Linked DNA regions of Homo sapiens: regions 1 and 2 are each linked to region 3. Evidence: promoter capture Hi-C in human tissues and cell types (Jung and others, 2019). All regions are on one chromosome and are shown on one strand. Each heading gives the region's core, a stretch centred on a gene start or on the middle of the fragment in contact. The rest is flanking DNA. Distances are from core to core; before and after follow the strand shown. Region 1 overlaps THOC5 (THO complex subunit 5). Region 2 has its middle 5.7 kb from the start of RFPL1. Region 3 holds the start of NEFH (neurofilament heavy chain).

Region 1 (3,677 bases), core at 48-2,547, 47 kb before region 3:
GAGGGGCTTGTGTTCCATCTAAATGACATCAAAAAGCCCTTTGAAAAAAATGAGTTATACGTCATTCTTCTTTTTTCTTTTTTCATCACCATGTTTTGTATACTGAATAAGAAGCAGCAAGTTAATTTATTATTTATTACAGAGAAACTTATTTACAAAAGACAGAGTCAGGGCCCCTTTATGCCATGTGGGTTGGAGTGCTTTAGGGAGCATTTGGAGCCCCCTCACCTCTAGCTGCCTTCTCTCTGTGGCTGCAGATGACGAGAGTGACTCAGATGCCGAGGAGGAGCAGACTACGGTGAGAACCATTTCCTCTTGTGGGGGCATCAAGCAGCTGCATGCACTGGGGCATGCTTGTTCGCAGGTGCCGTCCTCCCTAGAAGCAGAAGAGGTGTGAAAGAAGGTGCTGCTGGGAGGGGAGTCTGACAACCCAGCTAGCTGAAGCAGCAGGTGCCAGGCAGTAGGGCTGAGGCCTGGCTGGTTGGGAGAGGGAAGGGGAGATTGCTATGACTGATGCTCATCAGCTTGGCACTTTCCTTTGTCCAGAAGCGCCGGAGACCCACACTGGGGGTTCAGTTGGACGACAAACGCAAGGAGATGCTGAAGAGGCACCCACTGTCTGTCATGCTCGACCTGAAGTGCAAAGGTCTGGTTGCACTCACCTTGTTTAAGGGATCTGTAGCACCTAAGAGTTCACCCAGCTGCAGGTGCAGAGGGTCCGGGAGCCAAACACCCATTTGCCCAACAAAGGATTCCCATTTCATATTGCTTTGTTTTTCCTTATTGTTTTGCATGGACTTTGTTTCTTTTTGTTAAATCATAACCGTAACAACATAGCAACAAAACTCCAGTCACATAAGGCAGAAGCTTGAGAAAACTATACCTCTTTCTGAATCTAGCAAGTCAAATATCTAGAACAAGTTGCAAAAGTATACAGGTTTTTAGTAAGACCAACATGTTTAATAAATGTAAGTAGAACTTTGTATTCTGCAGAGTATATGTTTTGAAGTTGGTTTGTATGAAAAAGTACCATATAATAAAATGTTCTAGCAGTAGAAGAGCTAACAGTAAAATTTAAGTTTCCCTCTCACCACAGGTTCCTATATACCAGTCCTAGGTCTCACCTCCAAGGGCAACCATTATTACAGACTTCTTATGTATTTTTTAGAAAGATTCTTTGCACCTGGAAGCTTTTATACAAATGTATATTTATCTGCTTCCCACTTTATTTTTTACACAAATGGAAATAGGCTCTACGCACTGGTTTTCTTTTTGCTGGTTGTTTGTTTGTTTGTTTGTTTTTAGAGATAGGGTCTCACTCTCGTCATCCAGGCTGGAGTACAGTGGCATGATCACGGCTCACTGCAACTTCAACCTCCTGGGCTCAATCGATCTTCCCACATCAGCCTCCCAAGTAGCGGGGGCTACAGGCATGTGCCATCATGCCAGTTAATTTTTGTATTTTTTGTAGAGATGGGGTTTTGTCATGTTGCCCAGGCTGGTCTTGAACCCCTGGGCTCAAACGATCCTCCTGCCTCAGCCTCCTAAGTAGCTAGGACTGGAAGCGTGCACCACCATGGCTGGCTTTGAGATAATTTTAGGCTCATAGAAGACTTGCCAAAATAACATGAGTTCCTATATACTCTTCATTCAGCTTCCCTAAAGTTACATCTTAATTAAAGATGGTATGATTAACAGCGATCCACACCACTCTTAATTTCATTGGCCCAATACTGTTAACAAAATGACAGAATTTTTTTAGTTTCTTCCTTTTTTAATTAATGTCCTTTTTCTGTCCCAAGATCCAAGCCAGGGTCTCAAAGTGCATTTAGTTGCCATGCTCCTTAGTCTGCTCTAGGCAGTGAGTGTCTCAGTCTTTCCTTGTGTTTCATGACCTTGATTAGACTGAGATTATGGATTTGGGGGAGAGAATAGCATAGATGAGGTCGTCGCTATCATGTCATATCAGGAGTACCTGATGCCACTGTATTATTTCTGCTGATATTGACCTTGATCGCTTGGTTCCCTTTCCATCTTGTATTTGTTAGAAGCAGAGTCACTAAGTCCAGCCCACTCTCAAGGGCAGAGAAATTAAGCCCTACCTCTTGGTGGGAAGCGTAGCAAAGAATTTGTAGATGCTCTCCTTGCTTCTTTTTGTTCATTATATTACTGTTGTGATTTTTTTTTTTCTTGAGACAGAGTCTCGCTCTGTTGCCCAGGCTGGAGTGCAGTGGCGTGATCTCTGCTCACTGCAAGCTCCACCTCCTGGGTTCACACCATTCTCCTGCCTCAGCCTCCCAAGTAGCTGGGACTACAGGTGCCCGCCACCACGCCCGACTGATTTTTTGTATTTTTAGTAGAGACGGGGTTTCACTGTGTTAGCCAGGATGGTCTCGATCTCCTGACTTCATGATCTGCCCACCTTGGCCTCCCAGAGTGCTGGGATTACAGGTGTGAGCCACCGCGCCTGGCCGATTTTGTTTTTATAGTAAATGATTGTAAAAGTCTCTGAATTTTTCTATAATTCTGTTTTTCTTTTTTTGTTATAATTTCAACTTTTATTTTCGATTCTGGGGATACATGTGCCGATTTGTTACACTATTTTGCGTGGTCCTGAGGTTTGGGGTATGAATGATCCCGTCACCTAGGTAGTGGGCATAATACCTAGTAGTTAGTTTTTCAACACTTGACCCCCCCACCTTACTACCCCCTATGACTCTGTTCACTCTGCTCTGAGTGTTTTGACTCATAAATTCTCTCATCTTCCTCCCCTCCAGATGACAGTGTGCTTCACCTGACTTTCTACTACCTCATGAACCTCAACATCATGACAGTAAAAGCCAAAGTGACAACTGCCATGGAGCTGATCACCCCCATCAGTGCAGGGTATTGAGCAGGCGCTCTGGGCAATGACGTGCGGGATGGGGAGGTGATGAGAGCCTCATTGTGGGGCTGCTCTCGGTTCCTCCCTCTGGCTCTGGAGAGGGCTACGGCTGTGTTGACTTGTCTTGTATCCAGATGGACCAGAAGTCCTGGCACATCGCTGGTATTTAGAAAGCACTCTCTGACTTTAATTTGTGAAGTCCTCTTACTACACAGCAGATGATAAAAGTGACAACAGCATATTTGCAAATTGAGTAGGTGGGGCAGAGCACCAGCTTTTTGCTACCAGTGGAAAGTGTGTGAATATAAAATGAGATTTGGCAGACATTATTAGGTTGCCAAATTCAGGCCACTCTTTCCCTTTTCTCTTTCTATCCCAAGGTGCTGGGATTTTTGCTCCCCAGCTCAGCCCAAGCCCATGTCCTTATCTGGGTGGTGGGAGGACTGTGGTGGGTCCCTGTGAAAGTTTTGAGAAGAGTGAGCAGAGGCACAGTAATGACAGCCATCATCGCATCCCCAGGAAGGCCCTGACTACAGTGTTCTTTTTTTAATTTCTATTTTTGTTGATACACAGTCTCACTATGTTGCCCAGACTGGAGGACCATGGCATAATCATAGCTCACTGTGGCCTCAAACTTCTGGGCTGTAGTGATCCTCCTACCTCAGCCTCCTGAGTAACTAGGACTACAGGTGCATGCCACCATGCCTGGCTGACTTTCTATTTTTATTTTATAGAAACGGGGTCTTGCTGTGTTGCCCAGGGTGGTCTTGAACTCCTGGCCTCAAGCACTCCT
Region 2 (3,712 bases), core at 952-3,451, 48 kb after region 3:
ATAGCCCCGGACTCACCCAGAGGGTGGTTAAAGGCACAGTGCTGGCTGCAAAGAGCTTTTCTTTCCTCATACCCACAGTCCAGAAGCCAAGTTCTGAAGACCACACAATTCTCTTGTCGATTAACAGATTCTTTGCAGGCACCCAAATCCCATTATTTGCCTGTCCCCATGTCTACCTCCCAGTAATGGTGTCCAGAGGTGAAGCGAGGGGAGCCCAGGACACAGATGACTTGTTTGAATCTCGGCATACTCTGTGCGGTTCTAAGAAATCCACAATGGACACTCCACAGGTCTTCAGAAATGATGAGTCGATTGTTGGCTGTGTCAATATCTGACGTCATATCCACTGTGGAAAGAAAAAAGGTAAATCAGCAAATAGAAACTTCCCTGCATTCCCTGATTCCGTAGAATTTCTTAGAGAAGATTGAAATAGAATTGTAACAAATCCCTCTTGTTCATAGTAAGCATTCTTTTTACATTTTGATTATTCAAGATTTCTTGAGATCCATGAAGGCAGAAACCATGTCTGTTGTTTACTCTCAAAATCATAAAATTTAGCAGACTCTGTTCAAATATAGATATCTAATGAATATCTAGATGATGGAAAAACTATTTATTATACTATTAGATCAGGCTGTGTACGGCGGCTTATGTCAGTAATACCAGCAATTTGGGAGATTGAGGTGGGAGGATCGCTTGAGCTGAGGAATTTGAGACCAATCTGGGCAACATGAAACCACATCTCAAAAAAATTTGTGTGTATGTGTGTGTGTGTGTGTGTGAGTGTGTGTCAGAAATCCAGATTCTCAACCAGCCTAGTCCAATAGAAGGAGAATTTGCATTTTATAAAAGATCTCCAGGTAATTTTAAATTTTTCTGTAGACATTAAAAAAAATTCAACAATACTTTAAATAACATATTATAAGCTTGTATATCCAGAATTATTGTCACTTCCACATGGGGTACACCCATGTTTCAAGGGCCCCATAGCCACTGGTGGCTACCATATTGGGCAGCACAGGTCTAGGGTATGACTTAAATGTTATATTTTCTTCAAAATCTTCTGTTGTCTCTAATCTATACTCACAGCTGAGAACTGTTGTTGGGTGGGCATACACATTTTAGGTGCCAGAATTCAGCTAATGCCCCTATTTAATGGAGAGCCTTTTGAACAGTTGCTTTTTCCAAGGCTGTTGGTGGGCCGAGCGCAGGTTATACAGATTTCTGACCTTGAAACTTCCGCATCCTTGGGTTTTAATATAGAATTCTTCTCAGCTGGGGCTCCACTTCCTTGATTTTGGAAACCAGTTTTCCCAGCAGGAGATGGGGCGTGATGTCTTTTATAGTGACCACAGAGCAGATGGCGCACAATACATCATCCCCATTGGGCTCCTTTGGAAATGAACTGATACAGCGGAAGCAGCAGAGATATCCACACTCTAGGTATGTGGGTTTTTATTATTTTCTTTTTTCTTTTCCTTTTTTTTTTTTTTGAGACGGAGTCTTGCTCTGCTGCCCAGGCTGGAGTGCTGTGGTGCCATCTTGGCTCACTGCAGCCTTTGCCCCTGGGTTCAAGTGATTCTCCTGCCTCAGCCTCATGAGTAGCTGGGATTACAGGCACTGCCACAGCACCCGGCTAATTTTTGTATTTTTAGAAGAGACGGGGTTTCACCATCTTGGCCATGCTGGTCTTTAACTCCTGACCTCGAGATCCACCCACCTCAGACTCCCAAAGTGCTGGGATTACAGGCGTGAGCCAATGTGCCTGGCTAGTAAGTGGGTTTTTCAGGATAAGATAGGCAGCCGACACATCGACTTGCTTCTTTAAAATGTTCTGCCATGGCCAATGTCTGCAGAAACGGTACATGATATTGGAGTTCAATTAACTGAATGACAATACTCCTTTAGGCTCTTTCACTTTTACATGCATAGAGACATATCAGTGCCTGCTATAAACAATCACTAGTGATAGGTGATAAAAACACTATAAAATACATATAAGAAGAGTCATGGCCTTGAACTTCTAATATCGGAAATGCTAGTTGGAATGAAGGACATGATTCTTCAGTTGAGAAGCTGGTGTTGTGAAGGGTCTAGGCCCAGCGGTCCAGCCACATGTGGTTCTTGAGCACCCCAAATGGGGCTTATTGGAATTGGGATGTGCCTTTGTTGTAACCAAGCGAGTTATAGAGAAACGCCACACTTTGAGACTAATTCAGGAGTCCTTTATTAGCCGGCGACCGAGAGACGCTAACGCTCGGAATTCTCTCGGCCCTGAAGAAGGGGCTAGATTTTCTTTTATACTTTGGTTTAGAAAGGGGAGGGGGAATTGAGCTGAAGCAATCTTACAGAAGTAAAACAGGCAAAAAAGTTGAAAAGACAAATGGTTACAGGAAAACAAACAGTTCCAGGTGCAGGGGCTTTAAATTCATCACAGGGTGATAGGAGGGGGGCTCCAGACACAAATGCAGGGGGCTTTAGAGTACTGTCACCTGAGCAAATTCCTGGGAACTGTGGACATAGTTTGCCACAGTATCTTATCAGTTAATTGCACTCTTTGACGCGCTGAGAGTCAGCTTGCACAAGTTAAGTCCTTGAGGGAGGGAGTGGGTAAGGAGCCCTTAATGTCTTGCAAATGAAGGAGCCGAATGGAATCCATCCAGCTTTCTTAGCTAAGAGAGAGTCAATCAAGTTAATGTAAGTTAGCGTATCACACCTTCAGTGTAAAATGCGCACTGGATTTTGAAGAGGTATGAGAAAAAGAGAATGTAAGTTATCTTATTAAGAACTTTGGCCAGGTGTGGTGGTTCATGCCTGTAATCCCAGCACTTTGGGAGGCCGAGGTGGGTAGATCACGAGGTCAGGAGTTCAAGACCAGCCTGACCAACATGGTGAAACCCCATCTCTACTAAAAATACAAAAAAAATTAGCTGGGCTTGGTGGCGCACATCTGTAATCCCAGCTACTCAGGAGGCTGAGGCAGGAGAATCACTTGAATCGTCTCCGGGAGATGGAGGTTGCAGAGAGCTGAGATCGCACCACTGCACTCCAGCCTGGGCAACACAGTGAGACTCTATCTCAAAAAAAAAAAAAGAACTTTTAAAGATTGATTACACGCTGAAATAACTTTTTTGTATTAAAATTTACATTTTGTAATTTAATGTGGCTACTAGAAAACTTATCATTGCATATGTGGATTACATTATATTTCTACTGGACAGCTATGTACTAGACTCAGAGACCCTCCAACACCCCTATCCCCTGCAAAATCGTTCTAATCTGGCTGTGGCAAAAGCCCCTCCTAAGTAGCTGAAAGGTTGAATAGGTCAAAGAGAGAAACTCCATCATCATCTCATCGAGTTGGCCACACTATGATTAAGGAAAATGAAGACTGTCATTTCTCCAGACTGGGTACTGAAAATTTAAGTTCTGCTGTCTGCTTTTAGAAGGTGACCCAGGGTCTCTCTAAGTGCACACACTGTGCCTGGCATTGAGCTGCCCTCAAACAATGTTGCCGAATTCATAGTGACTCCATCCTGCAGCCCTTGCTCTCTAATACCTGCCCTTGGTAGGAATCTAGTAAGTCGAGAAAAACTACATAAGCCTGGATGTGTGTCTCCTCCATTAGGTTCTCCCCTGGCCTCCAGTAGCTTCCACCGACAGCTCAGTTTTGAGTGAGCTCCACTTACAAGGGGTTTTTATTACAAGAGCC
Region 3 (3,608 bases), core at 773-3,272:
AGGGGCCTTGCTGCGGAGATGGAGGAGGGGATGGTTCTGCTCTGCAGAGGAGTGGAAAAGGAACAGAAAAAGCTATGCATCAAAATCCCAGCTTTCCCTGCTAGTGCTGGCAAAGACTTAGAAACCATCCAGGTGGTTGGAGATTCTCAACTATTGTCGATCACAGATGCTTTTGGAAAATCACTGAAGCCTCTGCCCTCTCTCTCAAAAACAACGCAAAGTTTTACAGACAGTTTCGTGAGACATCATGGAACTCCCCGGATTAAGCAGCCCAGTTGATCTACCCTCCTCTTTCAACTCAAAAAGAAATGAAAACCAGAGAGGGCAAGTGTTGGTCAAGGTCACCCTGCAGCTGCTGGGCACAGCCTCAGGGCAGCGCAATCTAGCTGACTCAGGGCTGCAAGGAGTTGGGGGAGGGGCAGACTTGGGAGGCTCCCAGCTTCCCTAAAGGAGAAAGGGGACATTAAAACATGAAAGGGCCCACCAGCCACCTCCGCCACAGGCAACAACTGACTGTAGTAATGGTTCCCTCTAGGAAGAAAGGATGCGAAAAGGTCCTGACCCACCCCCACGTGGAAGATTTAAGGTAGGAACGTTAAGCACTGAGCAGGTAGTGGGAAGGAGCCTGGTAGGGGTGAGAGGAATAGAGTTTCTTGCGGGGTGTAGGAGAGGGCATGGCAGCATTGGCGGGGAAGCCTTGCTACTTAGAAGGGCTAAGAGTCTCCAGCGCTTGCAGACCAGAATCCTGCACCACTTTTTTCCTGTAGAGGAAACTTGTTTTTTTCTTGACGGGGGAGGGATCTCAGAGTGGGGTCGCCTAAGCTTGGGGTAGAGAGCAGCAGGGGGCCCAGAGTTGAAGTACAGCCGTAAAGAACCTGGAAAGGGGGAACCGAAGGACAACCCAGAGTTGGGGCGTCCCACAAGAGACCCAGAGTAAAACTGCGATTTAACTAGGGGCATGCACTTTGCAGAGGGAAGGTGAGCAGCGCGCCACTCCACGCGCAGTCCGGCAGCGCCCCCTTGGGTCACGCAGCCCAAAAGTTCGCTGCGGGGTCAGCAGGGGCGCCCCTCCCCCCACCCGCGCGCCTGCGTACCTCGGAACCACTCCTCGGACTGCAGCGTGCTCTGCACCGCGTGGCCTTCAAGCTGCGCGCGAATCTCGCGCAGCGCCGACGTCACGTCGCACTTCAGGGCGTCGCGCGTCTCGGCCTGCATCTGCGCCTGCGCGGCGCCGGAGCCCTGGATCTGGCCGAGCAGCTCGCCCACCTCTTCCTGGTGGTGGCGCCGCAGGTAGCCGCACTCCTCCTGCAGCGCCTGCGCCTTCTTCTGCAGGTCCACGCGCGCCGCCTCGGCCTCCTGCGCGAAGCGCGCCAGCGCGCGGGCCGCCGCCTCGGCCTCCTCTCGCTGCCGGGCCTCGTCGTCTAGGCGCTGGCGCACGTGCGCGATGTCCTCGAGCAGGTGCTCCTGCTCCAGGCGTAGCTGACCGCGCGCCGCGCCCAGGCGCAGCACCGCGCCGCGCATCTCGCGGACCTCGCGCTCGTACAGCTCGCCCATAGCGGAGCGGCCCGCCTGCTGCTGCCGCAGCGCCGCAGCCTCGCCCTCCAGGCTGCGGTTGTGCGCCTCCAGCTGCCGCACCTTGTCGATGTACCCGGCGAAGCGGTCGTTCAGCGCCTGCAGCTGCTCCTTCTCACTGCGTGAGGTGGCCACCGCCACCATGCAGCCCTCCGGCCCGTTGCTCAGCGTGTCCAGCGAGTCGGTGCTTGAGGCGGCGCCTGCGCCACGGAAGCGGCTGGGCGAGGCGGACACGGAGCTCACGGACGTCCGTGTCCACGAGTGGAAGCCGCTGGAGGAGCCAGCGGCGGAGCGCGTCCCGCCTGCGCCACCCTTTCGGGCTAGCGCGTAGTGGAGGCTGCCGCCGCCATGCAGCGGCGCGAACGGGGCGCCCAGCAGCGCGTCCGCGCCGCCGAAGCTCATCATGGCCTGAGCAGGTGCGCGAGGCCGGGACGGGGCGGGAGGCACTGCGGCAGCACCAGGGCGCCGGCCCTTTTATAGCCGCCGCGGCCGGGTCCAACCCCTTGGCAGTGAGAGGGTGGGGAGGAGGGCCCCGCCCTCTCCGCCTCCTCCCCTGCGGCCCCCCGGCCGACCGGCTCCGCCGCAGTGAGAGGGGCGGGGCAGGGGACCGAGGAGGGAAGGGGAATCGACGCTGCGTCAGAGGAGACCCTCGAGGTCGGGGAAGCGGGCAGAGGACTCCCGGAGTGGGCCAGTGAGGACCCCCGGGTGCGCGTCGGAAGAGCCTGCGAGTGTGTTCGGAATAAGAAAGGGGACTTGAAACAGGGAGAGGACAAGGAGAAACCTGATGGGAATAGGGGCAGGATGCCCTCGGGATGGAGCAATGGAAGATTGCAGTCATTAGGATGAGGGGATCCCTGTATGAGACAGGACACGAGGCTTTCCAAATAGTTAAGAGAGGCTTTCAGGATAGGGGGTGCAGAGACTGTGCAGCCAGCCCCGGAACAGAGGAGGGAGCAAGGCAGTCCTGAATGGGAGCATGGACGCTCCATAGAACGGAGACAGGAGACCCCTGACCGGGGGAGGTACAGTGTTCTCCTAACATCTAGAGGACCCACTTGGAGAGCGCTCAGGAAACTCCGCGGCCAGCCCCGGAATAGATGAAGGGGGACCTGGAGTTGGGGAGAATAGCAAGGCTACCCTGAATGGGGGTATGGGAGACACTGCAGAGGATGGAGAGAGGGAACCCCGGATGGGTGGGGTTGGGGGGAGGCAAGGCGTTCTCTAAAAAGTCTGCAGTGGCCCCCGAGAGAGGAGATGGGAGACCCTGCTGCCAGCCCCAGTAAAGGGGACGGACCCTCAGCGAAGCGGGCAGAAGGTCCCCTGAACAGGCAGGAGAAAGCTGGGCTGAGTTTGAGGGGCAGAGAACCTACAGTGGGGGTACCGTAGGAGGGCTTGGGCATGAAGTTGAGAGAGCTGGCCCCTGTGTGGGGTGGGGGGAAATGATGGGTGTCACCCGAGCCAGCTTCTGCACACTGGGGTCAGCTAGGCAGTTTGCTGGTCGAATGACCTTGGACAAGCTGTGTCCTCCCACCCTTGTTTTTCCATCTGTACAACGAAGGGGTCTTGCCCCAGAGACAAGCTCCAACTCCTGACCCCCGACTGCCCCAGGAAGTTCCACTTTGAGGGGTCTCTGGCTGAACTGGGGATGGGGAACCCACATCTTGCCGTTCTGTCAACACTAGGAAGTCCTCTTTTCTCCCTCCCCCTCCCCATCTTCTCAGCCTCAACTTGTCCTCTCTTCCCCCACTCCTGTAACAGACAAGCAGGCGCCTGAGTCGGCATCCCTTCTCTCTTACAGGGAAGTGATGAGATGCTTTCTGAGTACCAAAGTCCCTCACCCCAATAGGATGTCAGGTAGAAGAAGGGGTCCCCAGGATTTAGGGGGCCCTGCAACGGCTGTGACATTTGGCTCTTTATTGGTTTTGGCTCATGTTTTATGCTGTGGGAGTGGGGGTGGTGCTGCGGCTGGCGCTTCAGCACCGGGGACAGGGCCTGCTCTTTGTTGGGCGTGGGGCGGGGAAAGAGATTAACCCTCT

Evidence for each region. Contacts are between HindIII fragments. The study calls those that stand out against the background at their distance.
Region 1: a fragment that was not itself captured here is called in contact with the fragment with the promoter of NEFH in region 3 in 5 of the 25 tissues and cell types used here (IMR-90 fibroblasts, dorsolateral prefrontal cortex, hippocampus and 2 more).
Region 2: a fragment that was not itself captured here is called in contact with the fragment with the promoter of NEFH in region 3 in 12 of the 25 tissues and cell types used here (H1 embryonic stem cells, IMR-90 fibroblasts, bladder and 9 more).

Annotation. Positions count from the first base shown.
Region 1 is chr22:29,525,047-29,528,723 of GRCh38, reverse strand. It overlaps THOC5 (THO complex subunit 5), which reads left to right. Exons shown (of 20, transcript NM_003678.5): 10 at 258-298; 11 at 547-646; 12 at 2,778-2,886. Among named protein-coding and RNA genes, the nearest start is that of THOC5, 27 kb to the left of the region's middle. The HindIII fragment of the contact is 3,617 bases long and covers 1-3,105 here.
Region 2 is chr22:29,431,072-29,434,783 of GRCh38, reverse strand. It overlaps a transcript of RFPL1 not described here and the pseudogene RFPL4AP6. Among named protein-coding and RNA genes, the nearest start is that of RFPL1, 5.7 kb to the left of the region's middle. The HindIII fragment of the contact is 7,578 bases long and covers 1-3,712 here.
Region 3 is chr22:29,478,632-29,482,239 of GRCh38, reverse strand. NEFH (neurofilament heavy chain) reads right to left here and starts at 2,022. Exons shown (of 4, transcript NM_021076.4): 1 at 1,095-2,022. The coding sequence starts at 1,977. RefSeq lists enhancers at 146-1,000, 3,561-3,608. The HindIII fragment of the contact is 10,845 bases long and covers 1-3,608 here.